5 separate regions of the Homo sapiens genome follow, and regions 2, 3, 4 and 5 are each linked to region 1. Evidence: promoter capture Hi-C in 16 types of primary human blood cells and fetal thymus (Javierre and others, 2016). All regions are on one chromosome and are shown on one strand. The core of a region is centred on a gene start or on the middle of the fragment in contact, and the rest is flanking DNA. Distances in the headings are between cores, read along the strand shown.

What was found. Contacts are between HindIII fragments. The CHiCAGO score rates a contact against its expected background, and 5 or more counts as called.
Region 2: a contact is called between a fragment that was not itself captured here and the fragment with the promoter of CHST13 in region 1, in 1 of 17 cell types (megakaryocytes). The highest score is 5.4, in megakaryocytes.
Region 3: a contact is called between a fragment that was not itself captured here and the fragment with the promoter of CHST13 in region 1, in 1 of 17 cell types (megakaryocytes). The highest score is 5.7, in megakaryocytes.
Region 4: a contact is called between a fragment that was not itself captured here and the fragment with the promoter of CHST13 in region 1, in 5 of 17 cell types (megakaryocytes, M2 macrophages, M0 macrophages and 2 more). The highest score is 10.3, in megakaryocytes.
Region 5: a contact is called between the fragment with the promoter of TXNRD3 here and the fragment with the promoter of CHST13 in region 1, in 5 of 17 cell types (megakaryocytes, M0 macrophages, M2 macrophages and 2 more). The highest score is 15.5, in megakaryocytes.

The regions. Positions count from the first base shown.
Region 1 is chr3:126,522,894-126,525,421 of GRCh38, reverse strand. It overlaps CHST13 (carbohydrate sulfotransferase 13), which reads right to left and starts at 1,267. Exons shown (of 3, transcript NM_152889.3): 1 at 993-1,267. The coding sequence starts at 1,089. RefSeq lists enhancers at 1-380, 381-881, 942-1,442, 1,443-1,943. The HindIII fragment of the contact is 2,161 bases long and covers 596-2,528 here.
Region 2 is chr3:126,748,220-126,750,747 of GRCh38, reverse strand. All of the region lies in intron 4 of CHCHD6 (coiled-coil-helix-coiled-coil-helix domain containing 6), which reads right to left. Among named protein-coding and RNA genes, the nearest start is that of CHCHD6, 45 kb to the right of the region's middle. RefSeq lists an enhancer at 1-208. The HindIII fragment of the contact is 4,734 bases long and covers 1-2,528 here.
Region 3 is chr3:126,697,953-126,700,480 of GRCh38, reverse strand. No RefSeq gene overlaps it. Among named protein-coding and RNA genes, the nearest start is that of CHCHD6, 5.0 kb to the left of the region's middle. The HindIII fragment of the contact is 4,094 bases long and covers 1-2,528 here.
Region 4 is chr3:126,674,341-126,676,868 of GRCh38, reverse strand. No RefSeq gene overlaps it. Among named protein-coding and RNA genes, the nearest start is that of TXNRD3, 20 kb to the right of the region's middle. The HindIII fragment of the contact is 1,916 bases long and covers 306-2,221 here.
Region 5 is chr3:126,653,855-126,656,382 of GRCh38, reverse strand. It overlaps TXNRD3 (thioredoxin reductase 3), which reads left to right and starts at 1,259. Exons shown (of 16, transcript NM_052883.3): 1 at 1,259-1,635. The coding sequence starts at 1,393. The HindIII fragment of the contact is 4,771 bases long and covers 1-2,293 here.

The sequences.
Region 1 (2,528 bases), core at 18-2,517:
GGGGGAGTGGGCAGAGGCCTCCCCAGGCCCTGATATCCTCAAGTCTTGGGCCACTCCCACCCCCACTGCCCAACATCCCCGCCCACCCTGGACCTAGTTACTTACTCCCTGGGACTGTGTCTGCCAGGTTCCAAGGGTGGGGCCCAGGATTCTCAGAGCCCACACTGGGGGTGGGGAGGCGGACTGAGTCGTCCCACCCAGCACGCATACCACATACAAGGAAAGGCAAACAGCCCTGAGGTCAGGAGACCCGGGCGCTGGCTGGGCCCCTCCAGTCCCAAGTAGATTGTATAGCCAGCACGTTGCCACCACACCTGTCTCCCCACTCTCTGGCCCGCTTCAGATTGTGTGAAATGGGTTGATGGGAGGCTTCACATGAGCTGAGGAGAGACTCAGAGCAAAGACTCAGCACCGGTGGAGCCCAGGGCACTCAGCTCTGCGGAGTCATGACTAACTGCCTCAGTTTCCCCAGCCAGACCACGAGTGGGTGCACAGGAGTCCCAAGCCCTACCCAGTGTGGATTTCAGGGTGGAGCAGGGAGTGGCACCCACTGCACAGTAGGACAACCAAGGGACCGGACCGAGTGGCCCAAGCTTCCCCTCCTATGCGCATGCGCCCAGCAGCGCTCATGTCCAGGGGCCGTGGGGTGCGCAGGGGAAGGGGGTGAAGGTAAGGGAGATGGCCTTCCCGGATTGGCCAATTGTCCTCTACCCCCCACAACTGACCCCGGTCTCCAGGCACCGGCTGTGGGACTCAAAACAGTCACCGCTCTGGGAGTGGGGAGGTAACTCCGGAGGAGGAGCAAGAGCCTTTGCTCGCGGGGGCGTCTAGAGCCTTTCTGTGCCTCACCAGCGCCCCTGCCCGCCACCCCTAGCCCCAGCCAGGAAGGAGACAACAGGTGTCCCCCGCGCTGTCGAGGGGTCAGGCCGCGGTGGAAAGCGCGAGGAGCCAGGTTTGGTTGGGGGTGCGCGGCTCGGCCGGCGGGCACTCACCCGGGCGCAGGGAGCGGGGCGCGGCGCATAGGAGCAGGAGCGCGGCGCCCAGACAGGCGGCCGCCAGCACGCGCCGCCGGCAGCAGCGCCTCCCCATGCTGTGCCGGGCGCGCGGCGGAGGACAGTCCGCTGGATACGGCTGGGGGCGGAGTTGCACTGGCCCAGGACCCGGCCCCGGCAGCGCAGCGCCTACCAAGACGCGCGGCGCGGCGCAGGGCAGGGGAGCACGGCAGCTGGACCCCAGCCCCACCAGCCCCTGCGAGTCGCTGGGGACTGAGGAGGCGGGACACGGTGGGGCCGCAAGCCCGCTCCTCTTTTCGTGCCCCCACCCTCACCCAATGGAATGGGGCCGAAGTCCAGGGCGCTAGGGCGGAGACTGATTGGGGAAGCCCCTCGCCTCTGGGCCCCGCCCCTAGGGTTTGCCCAGGGGTGCCATTATCCACCCAAGGCCAAGAGGCATTGTCGCGGTGGCGTGCCCCACCCCGGGCGGTGTCCCCTTGCCTTTTTGCTGCCTTAGATGCCAGGGGCCCAAGGGCTGATCTGGGATGAACCAAGGAGCCTAGTAGAGCGTTGCCCTGTCCATGGCTCTCCGGGACCCCCGCCCTCAGTAAGAGGCCTAAGAGTGTCCCTCCCTCCCCGACCCAAGGCTACCCTGCAGCCTTGCTTTCCTCCAGGGTCTCCAGGTCCTGCCTGAATCTAGCTCATGCAGGTGGCACTAGCCTTTGCACAGAGAGGTAGGGTCTCAGCTTACATCCCCCGGGGAATGGAGCTTGTGCCTCATCGTGTCACCCACAACTTCTCTGGGCACCACGTGAGCTCTGAGGACTTGCCAGGGACTGTGTGTGTGTGTGTGTGTGTGTGTGTGTGTGTGTGTGTTGGGGGGTGGAGGGGGCGAGGTGAGAGTAAAGTCCAGCCTTTGAAAGACACACACATCCAGCTAGCCCTGTGGGCAGGAGCCCACGTCTAACCGCAGGGTCTTGCTGCCCAGAAGTCAGGCTAGCAGGGAACGGGAGGGTGCAGCTGGCACTGGGTGCGCGGATGAGTGCGTTGGAAACAACATTTAGCAGTGTGAGTGCATGGGATAGGGTACTACATTACACTGTAGGTTTTTTTTGGAGTTTTTTGTATAAATGTAAGGGACACAAGTGCAGGTTTGTTACATGGAGATATGCAGTGGTGAGGTCTGGGCTTTCCGTGTAACCATCACCTAAATAATGTCCATTGTACCCATTAAGTAATTCCTCATCCCTCCCACCTCGCTCACTCTCCTACCCTTCCAAGTCTCCAGTGTCTATTATTCCACACTCGAAGCTCCAGTTGTTAAACTGTTCTTGAAAAATGTGGTGACTCCAAACCCACCTGGTGCCGCTTACTGCTGTGGGAGATTAGGAAATTAACTGCACCTCTCTGTTTCCCATTTTCCTGTACGGGGGGATAATCCTAAACCTCAGTGCTGTGAAGATTAAATGAGATACAGGAAATGTTTGCAACAGTGTCTGGCACTCAGTGAGTGCCAGGTAAGTATTTGATATTAGT
Region 2 (2,528 bases), core at 16-2,515, 230 kb before region 1:
AGGCTCATTGCAAAAGGAATTAGCATTAAAGCTAGGTGGGTCTGCTCATTTACAGGGAGGCTTGGGAGAAAGCTCTGGGAACTTGCCTCACATGCTAGGGGTATCCAGGCACTCAAGACTCAGGCCTAGAGGCAGCCATGCCCAACCAAGGCCTGCCCCTAGCAGACCCTCTAGCACCAAAGGCCACGCTGGCTTGACCTCCATCTCAGTCCTTATCCTGAAGCAATTCCCAGGAGGGAGTCGCCAACTCTGGAGCACTTCTCTCCGATTCTGTCTGATCTGGTAGAAAACACTGCCCCCATCTGAGGTCTGGCCAGGGCCATACTTTGGACAGCCAGCCAGGGGAAGAGCTGTCTGCTTTGCCATGGGTGGCATCTTAACAGATCATCTTCCAAACAGAGACATGCACATCTGGGGTCTCAGTGGAAGCCCTGAGGTCAGCTGCCTGGAAGGCCAGATGAGCACTAGGAGAAAATAGTCAAAGACGACTCTGTGGGATATTCCCTGCTTGGTCCCCAGAAGCAACCCCCATGAATGTCTGGGCAGAATTGACAGCATTGTGCCTTCTCGAGGACCCCTCCACTGCTAACTATGGAGAACTGAGCAGCTATCCCAATTGCGCAATGTTTTGTAAATGATTCAAGCCCAGGTATGGAGAGAAGACAGGTTCTGTACTGGATGTCCTCAGTTTGAGGTCCCTGAAGGCACCAGGAAAGGTGTGGCCAACCAGCATCTAGAGAACAGAGGTCCTGAACAGACGTCGGGCCAAGGTGGATGTGGGTGTTTTCAAGAGGTAATGAGGAGGCAACAAACAACAGTGGTGGATTTCCAATTGTCCCCCCATAGCCATTCTTTGGTATGGAGCTTTGGCTGGGCATCCAGCTACACTGTCTAGACATTTCCTAAACAACCTGTCACTAGCAGTGGTCATGTGACTATCTTCTGGCCAACAGGGTATGTCCAGAAATGATGGAGCCCAGTTCTGGTCTTGCCCATAAAAGAGCCAAACGGGAATGCACTCACATGGCCCGTGTCCCCTTCGCACTGGTCAGGAACTGAAGAGAAATGGAGCAAACAGTTTGCACCCAAGGCTGCTGAGGCTGGCAGAGCTCCCACCAGTCTTGGACTACCTTTAGACAGTTCCATGAAAGAGAAACATGTCTTTCTTATTTATGCTACTGTATCTGGGGGCCTCTCTGCTACAGCAGCTCAATCTAGACCATAACTGATAGAAGGACCCAGAGGTAGGGAGGCCAGAGAGGAGTCTAGGCATCTCCTTGTCAAAAAAGGGCATCTGGCTCAGGCCAGAAACCCAAGAGTCATTCTCAACACCTCCTTCTTTCTCACCCCACAGCCCCCATCCTCACCAAATGTGTCATTTCTTTCTCCACATAATTCTTCCCCCAGATACTGTCACTGTCCTTTGTCTGGGTCACCATGATCTCTCTGAAGGGCCCTTGGGAGTCCTGTTGATTCCCCTGCCTCTGCTCTTGCCCACTCTGCCATCTTCCCCAGAATCTCTATGAAAACCTTTCACATGCTCCCTGCTGCTTCTCAAACCCAGTTTCCTGCCATGCCCATGAGTCCCCACCCACTGTTCACACCCTTCTTGCTGGCAGCTGCATTCACTCACTGAACTCTCTACCACCCAGGCCGGGGCACACTCCCCACAAACTGCAGAGCTCCCCCTCCTCATTCTTTGTCTCCTTCCCACTTACCCTCTAGGTCGCGGCTCACATGTCCACTCCTCAGAGAAGCATTAGCTGACCTCAATCTAAATTAGGGCATCACTATCACTCTCTCTCTCTCTGCAGCAGTATGCTTATCTCAGCTGGTAATAGTTACTTGTTTGACATCTGTTTCTCCAACTGGACCAGGGGCTCCAGTAGGGTCAGGATCGGGTCACTTCTGGATGGCCAGCCCAGCCCGGGCTGCAGCCCTGCTCAGGGAACATGTCTTGAATGGATGGATGGAGCATGCAGAAAGGGGGCAGGATAGCTAAGGCACAGAGGCTCACAGAAGGGACATTTAAAGGAAGAGTAGCTACTTGGTGATAAATACCCCTTGAAGGAAATGTGAAGAAGGAAAGTTATCAGATTTGTTGGAAAGAAGATCATGGTAATTTCTTTTCTTTCTTTTTTTTTTTTTTTTTGGAGATGTAGTCTCACTCTGTTGCCCAGGCTAGAGTGCAGTGGCACAATCTCGGCTCACCGCCACCTCCGCCTCCCGGGTTCAAGCAAGTCTCCTATCTCAACCTCCCAAGTGGCTGAGATTACCAGCGCCCACCACCACGCCCAGCTAATTTTTGTATTTTTAGTAGAGATGGGGTTTCACCATGTTGCCCAGGCTGGTCTCGAATTCCTGACCTCAGGTGATCCATCCGCCTTGGCTTCCCAAAGTGCTGGGATTACAGGCGTGAGCCACTGCACCCAGCCAATCATGGTAATTTCTGAGATCACGCCAAATTGTAATGAGTTTGAGAAGAAAGATTATGACTACCACTGTGATTCCAAGACACTCTATGGCAA
Region 3 (2,528 bases), core at 18-2,517, 180 kb before region 1:
TTGGGGGGCTCCCTGATTTGTAACTTGTCCTTTTCTCAAACTCTTTAATCAGTCTCAAGTTTTTCCTTTAACAGTATATATCTAAAGGAAATGAAATCTTGAAAATATATCTGCTCCCCCATGTCCATTGTAGTATTATTCAAAATACCCAAAATATGGAAACAACCTGTGTCCATCAACAGATGAGCAGATAAAATGTTTTACACACACATATATATACATACACACACACACACACACGCGTGTTTTATCCAGCCATAAAAAAGGAAATCCTGCCATTTGTGACAACATGGACGAACCTGGAGGACATTTTGCTAAGTGAAATAAGCCAGGCACAGAAAGACAAATACTGTATGATCTCACTTATATGTGGAATCTAAAAAAGTTGAACTCATAGAAGCAGAATAGAACATTGGTTACCAGGGATTAGGAAGTGGGGGCATGGGGAAATGGTCAAAGGGTACAAACTTTAGTTATAAGATGAACAAGTTCTGGCCAGGCACAGTGGCTCACGCCTGTAATCCCAGCACTTTGAGAGACTGAGGCAGGCAGATCATTTGAGGTCAGGGGTTTGAGATCAGCCTGACCAACATGGTGAAACCCCATCTCTACTAAAAATACAAAAAATAATTAGCCGGGCATGGTGGCACATGCCTGTAATCCCAATTACTTGGAAGGCTGAGCAGAAGAATCGCTTGAACTTGGGAGGTGGAGGTTCCAGTGAGCAGGACCTCACCACTGCACTCCAGCCCTGGTGACTGAGCGAGACTCCAAATCAAAAAAAAAAAAAAAAAAAGATGAACAAGTTCTGAGGATCGAATGCACAGCATGGATGGTGAATGATGTGTTAATTTCATTGTGATAAGCATTACACAATGTATATGTATATCAAACCATCACATTTTATACTTTAAATATATATAATCTTTGTCAATTAAAAAAAATTTTTTTGAGACATGGGCTCACTCTGTTGCCCAGGCTGGAGTGCAGTGGCATGAAAAGAGCTCACAGCAGCTTTGACCTCCTGGGTTCAAGGAATCCTCCTGCCTCTCAAGACTATAGGTGCATGCCACCACACCTGGCATATATATATATAAAATAGAGACTGGATCTCGCTATGTTGCCCAGCCCAGGCTGGTGTTGAACTCCTGGGCTCAAGCAACCCTCCCACCTTGGCGTCCCAAAGTGCTGGGATTACAGGGGTGAGTCACCGCATCTGGCCATGGGGCCGGACAGCCACCGAGTATTCAGAGGGCCACCAAGACATCTGTGCTGAGCTAATTTAGCAAAACGAGTGAGAGCCAAGGGTGACCATGAGACTCTGTGTGGCCTCACTCCCACTGTGAAGAATCCTTGGGGAGTCTTGAAATTCCACAGACTTACAGCAGCATAGGTAAGCCTCATGACAACCCAGTATATTCTTTATCTCCACTTCACAGATGAGAAAACCGAGGAGCAAGCAGGTGAAGATAATGCAACATTATTGATCCAAAGTAGGAGGAGGATAAAGGCAGTGGCAAGGGACGTGAAGGAAAGGAGGGGGAGGGAAGCAGAGCTTTTTGAGTAAGTTCCTTGTGCCAGGAGTTTTATTACCCTGTTCTAAGGCCCAAAAAACTGAGGCTCTGGGGAGGGAAGGTGTTGTGACGGGTCTGCTCATGGCTACCTGGCACCCAGTTTCCCCTTCCCTACAACAGAACCCCAATTTCCTGAGGTGCAGGCATGTGCCCAATTAGAAAAAATTGCCTCCTAGGCTCCCAGTGGCCAAATGCAGGACAATTTGAACATCAAGAAGAATAGAAAGAGTAATGGCTTATAGCACATTTAATTGATTTAAATCCATTAGCCTATTCTAGTGAGAGGGAGGAAGAGAGGGAGACAGCAACAGAGAGAATAGGAAAGAGGGTAAGGAAATTCTTCTTTACACAAAAATGCCAGCTAACCAGTACAGCGGGCATTTGAGATTTTTTTAAATTGCCACTTTGCCACCTTCAGAGGATTAACTGAGGCAAAAATCATCAAAGGATACTAAAGCCATTGAGTGGAAAAATTGTTGGGGGACAGGCTATTCACCCAATGTGCTGGGACTACCTTGGCCTCCCAAAGTGTTGGGATCACAGGCATGAGCCATCATGCCTGGCCACAGGGCCTGACAGCCACTGAGTATTCAGAGGGCCACCAAGACATCTGTGCTGAATTTTTTCTGCCCCAAAGGAAATTGGGGTTCTGTTGCAGGGAAGGGGGGACCGGGTGCTAGGCAGCCATGAGTGGACCTGTCACAACACCTTCCCTTCCACCCAACGACAGATTTATTCATTACAAAGGGAAAACCATATTACAATGATGACATCTGGCAGTCACTACCTTAACCAAATGACCAAATTTAGCATCTCAAATAGTGGGACCATCTGGCACAATGTCCCTCCCCAAGTGATACAATGAGGAACACAAAACATCTCCAGTGCAGTATTCTTGTCAAAAGTGTAACCTGAATCTAATGGTGAGGACACAGTCAGACAAATCCAGGAACA
Region 4 (2,528 bases), core at 14-2,513, 150 kb before region 1:
ACTCCTTATCCTTCTGGGATGGACTCACTTTCTTCTTGGAGCCCTTCCTCAAGGTGCATCCCCTTTTTGGTGGAGAGAAACCCCAAATAATTTCTCAAAATGTGTGCAAGGTCAACCTTGAGTCCTTTCAGATCTGAAAAGATCTATTTGCCTTTAAACATTGGCTTGTCCTAGATGTATAGGTTCAAAATTCCTTTCCCCCAGAAATTTGGAGACAGTCCTCACTTTCTTCTGGCAGCCTGAGTACCTGATGAGGCAGCTGATGCCAAAATGTCCCTTCCCTGCATCCACCTATTTTGGAAGCTTGTAGGATATTTCCACTATTCTTGATATTCTGGAATTTTGTGCTGATGTCCCATGGGCCTTTTTTTATTCATTATGCTGGGCATTTGAGTTCCCTTCAAACTGAAGACCCAGGTGCTTCAGTTCTGGGAAATTGTCTTCTATTATTATATTATTATTTTACTATTTATGCCCCTTTCTCTCTGTCCTCTATTTTTGAGTCTATTAGGCATTTCAACCTCATGGATTGATTTTCTTGGTTTCTTATATTTTCTCTCATTTTTTAAAACCTTTTTACCTAATTGTCCCATACTGTGGGAAATTTTATTATACATATAGAGATAGATATATATGCACATGTGTGTATACAAATAAATGTGTATATGTATTTTTTTCAAATATTACTATAATATTACAAGTAACAGAAAAATGCAACATAAGATGCTTAAATATGTATATACATACACACACACACACACACACACACACATATACACACACACATTTTGACAATAATACTTCAAATTTACAAGAGTTATTTTCTGGCTTTGTAATTGCTTCTTCTCCATAGCATCCTATTCTTGTTTTATGTATTCAATATCTTCTTTTTTCACAGCTTCAAGATACAATTCACATACCATACAATTCACCCATTGAAAGTGTACAACTCAATGGCTTTTAGCATATTCGCAGAAAGGTGCATCAATCACCACAATCAATTTTAGAACATTTATATTACTCAAAATGATGAACTCTATAACCCCTTGCCATCACTTCCCATTCTCCCCCTCCCTATTTTCTCACCCCTCCAACACCGCCAGCCCAAGGCAACCATGAATCTGCTTCTGTTGCAATATGTTCTTGGCTTTATCATCTGATTTCTTGTACCTGTCTTCAATTAATCAAGAACTTCTAAGACATAAAAGGTGACTAACTAGGCCATATCCTATCCTAAGAGATATATATAGAAGAAAAAGACAAATTTACATTGAGAAGCATAGAAAAAGATAGGTATGCAAATACCAACAAAAGAAAGTAGATTTGGCCATGGTAGTATTTAGAAAAAAATAAAATTTAAGGACTAAAGTGTTAATTAACTAGGACAAAGAATAATATTTTATGAAAAAATATAATTCATTAAGACATTGTGAGTCATGAATTTTTCTTCACCTAATATTAGAACCTTGAAATATATTTATTTGTTAAGATGCTTTGGTTGCAAGTAACAGAAAAATGCAACTCAAGCTGGCTTACATAATTAAGGGAATTCAATGGACCACAAAAGTCCAAAGATAGAGCAGCTGTCAGGTGAGTCTGATCCAGTGGCTGAATGACATTCCCAGAGACCCGGTTTCCTTATTTTTCTCATGCTTGCTTTCAGGCAGGGCATTAATTTCATCTTCTGCAGTCTCTCCTCATGATCAGAGGATGGCTGATGAAGCAACTGGAGTCAAACATTTCCCTATTAGCATGTAGTCTGAGAGATATCTCTCATTTCAATCAATAAAAAACAATTCCTGGGCTAAATCTTCATGGACAAAATTAGGTCATATGACCATGGCTGAACTAATCAATGTGGCCAGCCAAGGGGATGAGAGGGACTGGTTGACTTAGATTTGGCTTATGTACAAAATTTTGAAATAAATTGGAATAAAGGGGAGAAATTCTTCAATTATCCAAGATTATGATAGCTCATTGTGGTGTGAAAAGACTCAATAATATCCCAAACACTTGGAAATGATGTAATATAGAAGAGGTGGAACAAATTCTGAGGAAGCCAACCACATTGTCCAAAACATATATGAGTAAATAGATTGAACAATTAACAAATCTGTAACCATAGTGGTAGATTTTTAACACACCCCTCTTAGAAATTGACATATAAAGGAAACAAGAAATAAGTACGGGCTCTGCAATGTAAATGACACAATTTCAAGCTTCTACTTTGTATGCAACATGTTGAAAATGCACATTCTTTTCAAACAGTTAAGAAGCATTGGCAGAAAATGATAATTGCTGTTAAACTGTGAAGAAGATCTTAATAATTTATAAATAGAAATCAGAGAATCCATGTTTTTGGTCTATACGATAATAAATTTGAAAATTCCCAATAAAGTGTAGCATCAACAGTGACAAAAAAAACTATCCCTTTAAAATATTTAAACATACCTCCTAAATAACTGTTGCATTAAAGAGAAAATTAAAACCAATCTAATTTTTAAAAACTGATTTTCAATTTTTGATTA
Region 5 (2,528 bases), core at 10-2,509, 130 kb before region 1:
GCCATGCAAGAGTGTCATGGTCTGTGCCCCTGATTACTCCCCCTCACGGCTCAAAGAGGAGGACCCAAGCTAATGTGAAAATCACAGGCACTGTGATTGGGTGCTAGATGAAACTTCACGCAGGGACCCGGCCAGCCCTGCGACCTCCCTGAGGGCGACGGCTGGGGACATGGGTCATGTCCACAGATTAGTCTCAGGGAAAAGGAGGATGCACCTGACTTCAAGGCCCGTAGCTTCCACACACTCCCCCCTCATCCTGGACATGTGTCCTCACCTGAACAATGGCCCCATGACTGGTTGTGCCTCATGGGACCCAGGAGATGGAGAGACGCAGCCACACCTCATAGGAGCAGGGCGGCCAGCCTCATTCTCTGCCAAATCCGCAGCGCCCAGCACAGTATCTGGCACATGACAGGCACTCCAGCATCGCTGAGTGCACAGGTTAACAAAAAGCATAAAGTACCTACTAGGCTCCTTCCCCTGCTCTGGTTATTGCATGGGTTCCGCCTAGAGGACTTAACTGAAATGTAAAGAATTGTTGAGAAGAAGGAAACTCCAGGTTTTTGTTTTTGGTTTTGTTTTTTTTTTTTGAGACGGAGTCTCGCTCTGTTGCCCAGGCTGGAGTGCAGTGGCGCCATCTCGGCTCACTGCAAGCTCCGCCTCCCAGGTTCACGCCATTCTCCTGCCTCAGCCTCCCAAGTAGCTGGGACTACAGGCACCCGCCACCATGACCGGCTAACTCAGTCACTGCAGGCAAGTTCAGCTCCGAGGTCTTCCACTCATCCACCGAAATGGACAGAGGATTCCTCTTCTCGCGGTTTCAGAGTCCCTTTGTTAGGGGCGGCTCTGGAATTCTATGTAGAAGGGAACTGACGGGTAGCAACCTAGGAAACTCATTAAAGCTGCATTGCAATAGCAAACGCAATATATTTATTTAGCTTGTGTGATCTAAACTTTTAAAAATATCAATCTTTCCAATTCACACTTCCCATAAAAATTGAAGAACGTATATTTTAAGGTGGTTTAAAGGGGCTGTTGGGGATTATTAGGAGTAAAAGGCATTGCACAGAGGCCATCTCAGAGCGCCATCGCCAAGATTGGGTGGTCTCCGGACGCAGGCACAACCTGGAGATAAAGAGGCTCGCGCTTGGTACCCGCCCCTTTGCGAAGGGCAGGTGACACCTAGGCTGCGGGCGGGCGGGGGACCCAATTTCGCATGCGCGGGGCGGTGTTGGGGGGCGGGGCGAGCGGCTGCCTCGCGGATTCGCGCGGGTGGTGAGAGTGGCCAGCGAGGGCAGCGTTCGCCGCCCCTCAGGCCCCGTCCCGGCGCCGCAGCCGCCTGCGTTTCGGTTTGTGAGCAGGCCCGGCCGGGCCAGGAGCGAGAGCGAGACTCTGGAGCGGTCGCCGCCGCAGTCGCCCGGGCCGGGAAAGGCGGGCGATGCCCCCAACCGCCGCTCGGGCCATGTCCGAGGGGCGCGCGTGTTGTCGCCGCCGGGGCGCCGTGCCCGCCTGTCGTCCCCCGGGCCCAGCCGCTCGTCCGAGGCCCGCGAGGAGCTGCGCCGCCACCTCGTGGGCCTCATCGAGCGCAGCCGGGTGGTGATCTTCAGCAAGAGCTACTGTCCCCATAGTACTCGGGTAGGCGCGGCCCTCGCCGGTTCCACCGCGCGCGACCGGGCCCGCCACGCGGACGCCACCCGGGGCAGGGCGGGTCCGGGCCGGGGCGCCCGCGGGTCCCGGGCTGCGGCGGTGAGGTCAGCCGTCCGTCCTCTCCTCTCCCCGGTCGTCCCCTGAGGTGGGCTTGTGATAGTTTATCAAAACAGAAACTCTCCTAATTGCGTGACCTCGACCCGGGTTAGGACCCTGTGCAGAGCCTCAGTTCCCCCGTTTGTGAAACGAAGGTACGGGAAGGTTGTTAGGACGACTGAGGTAATTTCAGCTTCATGCACACTGCCTTAACTTTTCGGGGCGGACTAGGAATCCGGCATTATTTCTAAGGACAAATGTATTCTGTGTTTAAGAATACTTCACTTAGAAACGAGCCTTTGGGTGATAACCTACGTGTAAGGTACAGACTTTCAACGTTTAGGAATTTACTTCATTTTACAGAAAGTTGAAAAATGATACGTGGAAGACAGTATGCAAAAGCATAAACTATTGGGTTGAGTTCATGAAATTATAGGCTGTGTTTTTCAAATATATTTGAAGTTTACATTGATGTGTATAGTTTCTTAAAACATATATTATGCATATATATTTTTAAGAATAATAAAGTGACACTAGTACTGTAGAAGCTTCCTTGGCTGTCTCCTCCCTCCCTCAGGGTTAACCACTATGCAAAATTTCCTTTTTTTTTTTTTACATTTTTACCAAATATATATATTATTCATCAATATTTGGTTCCTTTTGGCCTGTTTTGGGACTTGATATAAATAGAACCATACATACATAGGTATTCTTCTGCAGTTTTCTTCCTCAACAGTTATGTTTCAGAGATTCATGCATGTTAGTATCTGTAGCTGGGGTTCATT